Linked DNA regions of Homo sapiens: region 1 is linked to region 2. Evidence: promoter capture Hi-C in 16 types of primary human blood cells and fetal thymus (Javierre and others, 2016). All regions are on one chromosome and are shown on one strand. The core of a region is centred on a gene start or on the middle of the fragment in contact, and the rest is flanking DNA. Distances in the headings are between cores, read along the strand shown. Region 1 holds the start of NUP58 (nucleoporin 58). Region 2 holds the start of POMP (proteasome maturation protein).

Region 1 (2,700 bases), core at 4-2,503, 3.4 Mb before region 2:
GTGGGGTAGGGCTTTAACATATGGATTGGGGGAGGAGGGAAATAGTTCAGTCCACAGCTGGTGGCAATGCCCAAGCTCAACGGAAGATTAAAGTACTGAATTAGGGAGAACTGTGAGATGAGGTTAGAAAGACTAATCATACGGAGGTCATCAAGTGCCAAACTAAAGAGCCACTGGGCTTTTTAGATCATAAATCCGGGGGTTGCTTATGGGATGGATTTTGTTAGAGATCACGAGTAGGAAAACCATTTGGGGGAGTAATGTAACAATCCCTGAGGGAAAAATAAAAACTAACACTATGATGACAACCCTCGAATGCACCACCACCAGGAAGCCTTTCCTGATGCTTCGCCAGAGAGGTTCTCTTTAAACGCGAATTTTTCTTGAGTTATCCTAGAAATGTAAGTTACACCTCACATTTCGCCTTCTTTCGTACATGTTCCTGTGCGTTTCCTAATCCTTCCACTTTGTAGTTCCTCCAGCACCGGTTGTGTCCGAGGGCCCTTCTGGCGGAGCCACACTCGCTCGGCCCAAGGTCCCGCCCTCCAGCATCAGGATGCACGGACAGTATTTGTGGACTTGACCGCATCCCAGGAAATCCAGCGGGCCTGGCCACTTCTGGGCGCCAGGACCACAGCCGGCCACCCCACGGACGCCTGGGACGCTCTTCTGGGCCCCCTTCGGGGCTGGGCGTCGGGCTCGCAACAACTGCGACCAACTGGCTCCGCGAGGCCTGGGGCGCAGGGGTGGGGCTCACGTCGTGGGACGGTTGCATGGATTATTTTCGATTGATTTCCGAACCTTCAGGAAGCAGACACGCTCCCCTTCCTTCTTAGGGATGGGGCGGCAGCCAACGAAAGCCCGAAGCCGCCTCCTTTTCTGAGTGGGGAGCTTAGAGATGCTCAGGAGGGACCTCCCCGATTCTGCGATTCTGAGCATCAATTTTGGCAGGAGGCTAGATAGAAGTAGCAATTGACATTCATCACCCTAAAGTGCGGATTATGTCAGTACAGATGCTACGATAGAAGAACTAAAAAATGACAGAAATGGTTTTACTGTTTTTAAACTCTGGGAGCCTACTCCTTTAAGAGATTAGGCAGTACGCCTATTCTCGCCTGGTCCCAGCGTACCTTGCGCGGCTCGCCGTCCCCCACTCACGTACCAGGGCTCATTGCGTGACGGTTACACTTCCGGCGGGCTACGTGCGCGCGGCGAGCGCCGGGCGTACTTTTGCGTGGTTGCTCCACCCCCTCAGCCTTGCCTTCGCCGCCGTTGGGGCTGGAAGTTCCCGCCAGGTCCGTGCCGGGCGAGAGAGATGCTGCCCGGCCCGCCTCGGCTTTGAGGCGAGAGAAGTGTCCCAGACCCATTTCGCCTTGCTGACGGCGTCGAGCCCTGGCCAGACATGTCCACAGGGTTCTCCTTCGGGTCCGGGACTCTGGGCTCCACCACCGTGGCCGCCGGCGGGACCAGCACAGGCGGCGTTTTCTCCTTCGGAACGGGAGCGTCTAGGTAACCGCACTTTCTCGCCTTCCTGGGCCGGATTCACCCCCACCCCCACCCCCGCAAAGCTCCCTTGGTGTCCCCATCCTGTCTCTTCCCTCTGGCTTCCTTCCCAGTGGGGCTGGAGAGAAGCACTTAATCTAGCCGCCCGGCGTCGTAGGCCTCTCGCCGCGGTACCCGGGCCCAGCGCGGCCTGGTGAAGTGGAGGGCGGGATGGGTTCTGTGCTGTGAGGTTTCCAGAATCCACGTATAGTTCAGGCATTATTTGGACCTAGTGGGGTCTTGACTGCGTGGAAGGGCCTTGGGGTCTACCCCGGAGCTTTAGCGATGTGTCAGTCTTAGGCATAGAATGAACATTGAATGAATGAATGAAATTATAGCATACTGTGGAGTTTTATGATAGATAATTCCGATTTCATTGCAGCATTTGCGGTTTTGGATATGACGGTGTTTTAATAACTTTGTGGTTTTTAACCAGCTTTTCAAGCTTTTGTGCCACATGGGACCTTATCTGTTTTTGTTAAAAAAAACAAAAACACTTTTTTACAGTGTTTATTAGTGGTAATTTTCTGCAGTATGTGCAGATTAGTATATCTGATGCGAGAATGTTGTGTTGTAATAACTCAATTTGTCTTTTACTTAAATTACAAAACGTAGGTAGCATGTTCCTTGTTTTTGTGCAACCCATTAGTTCAGGTGGCGACAAAAACATAACTATCCAGAAAGAAACAAAGTGGTGAGACATTTTAATGAGAGATTTAAGCTTTAGAACTCAATTTTTTTTAAGATAAAGGTGGAGGGGTTCATAAAGTTAAGGAGTGTGCACACTGTCAACAAGATACTTCCTGAAGCTTAAAAGATGTGGCTGTAGATTTAAAAGGCAAATACTTAAGCATGACCTGCAGTTTAAAAAGGGAGGGAGGAGGAACCACGGACTACACAGTCAATTCAGAAATTTGAATTTTCATCCATACCTCCGTTATTCTTACTCTACTCGCTCAACAACAGGTTCTGATAATGTTACTTCTGCCATTTCTGTTTGTCTTTATTTCCAGTTCCACAACCCTGCTTAGGCTATTGTCATTCGTGGAACAAATATTTATTGGACAGATTCCCATGTGCAAGGCTCTGTTTTAGGTATTAAGAGTCTTGCTCTCTTGATCCTTACATTCTTATGAAAATAATTTTGATTCTTGTCAG
Region 2 (2,700 bases), core at 196-2,695:
GAAACACTCCAACTCAAATCTCAGGATTAAACATGGCTATTGTGAAGGACCAGAAGACACCTAAAGGACAGCATGGCAGAACACATAACATCTGGAACTTCAAAGTTGTATGACCATGGCAGTGGATATACATAACATATATGGCCTTATCATTTTCCTCTCTCAAATCCTTCGATGGCTTTTTAAAGACAAAGCCTCATCCTTAATCTTGCCTACAAAGGCTGCATAAAAAACCTGTAGCTAGGTCCCATGATGCACGCCTGTAGTTCCCATTACTCAGCCGGCTGCAGCAGGAGAATCGCTTGAGCCCAGGAGTTCAACGCAGACCTGGGCAACATAGCTAAACCCTATCATTATTTAGAACAAACAAACAAAAACAACAACAAAAACCACTTGCCTCCATCTACTTACAACCTCATCTCACAGTACTCTCCACTTTACTTTCTGAACTTTAGCCAGACTTAGGCCTTCTTTCCAGTTCCGTTTTTGCACAAGCAGATCTGCACGTAATGTTGTTTTAAATATCCTACTACCCCAAACTAGTTCGCTCTTATCTTTTAGCTGTCAGTCCAAAGATTCCCTAAGATGTCTCCATCCTGTGGCAGCAGACTATAAGGCCGTTTTATTACATTATATTTGAACAATACAGAATAGTGTAATGAGCATGGATTCTAGACTCATAAATATGTCCTTAGGCATATTTATTTAAGCCCTTCATGTCTCGGTTTCTTCACCTGTAAATTGTACTTGTAAGGTTATTGAAAAGATTAAAAGAGATAAAGGATGTAAGCACTTAGAACTGTGTTGATAACGCAATTCAAAGGGCCCAACATATGTCGGTCATGATCACATTTACTTAATTTGTAGTCACTATCGTCCCCTCTCTCCCCTCTAGCCTCCGGAGTACCCCTGCTCCTCTAGCCCAGAGGCCACACCGGCCTGGTCCTTTTTTGTATTCCTAGCCTCAGCACAGGGTTCGGAACATACCAGGCCTTCAATATTATGTTTTTTAAAAATGACAAAAGCCTTGTGTCCCAATTTTGCTTTATTAGCCGAACGATCTCAAGCAAATCACTCAAACCACCTACGCCTCGTTTACCCTTCTGTGAAATGTAATAGCTACCTCAGAGAGGTTTTGTGTTAAATAAGGCGATGTACCTACAAAAGCACACTGCACATCTTAAAATGCCGTACAAACCGTAGATGTTTATTAATAAACCGGAGTCCGTGTCTTCCCTCCCCTCAGGCACGTCTCGTCCCGACCCCTCCCTCCTCCCAGCCCACACCCTTACTGCGCCCTTGGCCCTGGGTCCCTTGGGATTGCAAGCGTGGGAGCCTCGGCCCCGCGCAGCTCCCTCCGGCGTCCCGCGCCCTCCTTCCTTCCTCGCCAGGACGGACGCACTTCCGGCGGATGTGGGGGCCAGCCCTCGGAAACGGAAGTGAGCGGCGGGGTCGACTGACGGTAACGGGGCAGAGAGGCTGTTCGCAGAGCTGCGGAAGATGGTGAGTGGGTACCCGGGCGGCTGGAGTTCCACGCGGGCTCGGGACCGTGGCTCGGCAGAAACAGGCAGTCGCCTCCCAACCCGTCCCCGGTGGCGGCGGCGGCGGCAGCGTGGGGCTGAGGCCGGCCTCAGGCGCCATAATCTGTCGAGTCACGGGGTTTGGGTGGGTCGTGACTGTCGCCGGGGCCCGGCACTAGTCCCACTAGCAGTGCTTCGGCTTCATCCTGCTCCTCTTAGCTCGGTTTGCGCCCTTCCATCCCTTAGACCCCAGCAGGCCCAGACCTCCTCCCCTTACTTGGCGCAGAAGTGGAAAAGGCAGCCGTGAAAGTGCAACGTTCTGTGGGGTGGCGCTGGCGACCCTTTCCTTGACGGGTAACCTCTGGGAGCCCAGAGCTCTCAGACTCCTCATCTCCCCCAGCCCCCGCCCTTGTAACTGCCTAGTAAACAGCCCACAACTATAGGTCGCATTTGTGTAACGCAGCTTTGCTCTACAAACTTTTTTGAGAGCTTGTAGTGTGCTAGATGTTAGAGGGGAAAAAATCAGACAGTTGCTATTCCCTGTTTGCCAGTATTGTTAGTATATCTCCTCCCTCCTTCTCCTCCCCACCACTTTCTCTTTCTTTTTAACTTAGAAGTTGTGGTATTTGAGAAGAACACTGAGTCACCATTGCCACAGACTCTGATATCGGTACTGCTGGTAGGCCATCCATCCAAATCTAGAAAGTTTCTATTGGTAAATACTGCTAATCGTTATCTAAAAAGTTTTTTAGGCACTCTCAAATGTAACTAGTAGTTAGGTTTTCGTAGATTTGCCTTTCTCGGCTCCTTCCTTTATTAGAAACAGCAAGTACTAATCTTGATATTTTACAGAAGGAAATTGGGAAAAATGACAATAACAGAATCCAGAAGTCAGAATTCACCTTTTCTTTGTGCGTTGAAACCTTGTTACTTTACAATAAAGCAGTCCAGAAGGAGGAGAATGTTCATATAGGGAAGTAATAGAAGATACATTTGGAAAGCAACAATCACACATCTCTGCTGAAGGTCCCCAACTTCTGGTGGTTCAACAATCTTCTGACTTTATGATGGTGTGAAATCCATACACAGTCAGTAGAGGCCATATTTGAGTACCAATACAGCCATTCTGTTTTTCACTTTCAGTACAGTATTCAATAAATTACATGAGATACCCAGTACT

Evidence for each region. The method cuts DNA at HindIII sites, captures the fragments that hold promoters and counts their contacts. A CHiCAGO score of 5 or more calls a contact.
Region 1: the fragment with the promoter of NUP58 here is called in contact with the fragment with the promoter of POMP in region 2 in 2 of 17 cell types (naive CD8 T cells and naive CD4 T cells); the score reaches 8.2 in naive CD8 T cells.

What each region holds. Positions count from the first base shown.
Region 1 is chr13:25,300,372-25,303,071 of GRCh38, forward strand. NUP58 (nucleoporin 58) reads left to right here and starts at 1,254. Exons shown (of 16, transcript NM_014089.4): 1 at 1,254-1,509. The coding sequence starts at 1,403. RefSeq lists enhancers at 910-1,149, 1,310-1,389, 1,500-1,549. The HindIII fragment of the contact is 2,784 bases long and covers 1-1,985 here.
Region 2 is chr13:28,657,685-28,660,384 of GRCh38, forward strand. It overlaps POMP (proteasome maturation protein), which reads left to right and starts at 1,446. Exons shown (of 6, transcript NM_015932.6): 1 at 1,446-1,503. The coding sequence starts at 1,501. RefSeq lists an enhancer at 939-1,098 and a silencer at 1,319-1,378. The HindIII fragment of the contact is 5,788 bases long and covers 1-2,700 here.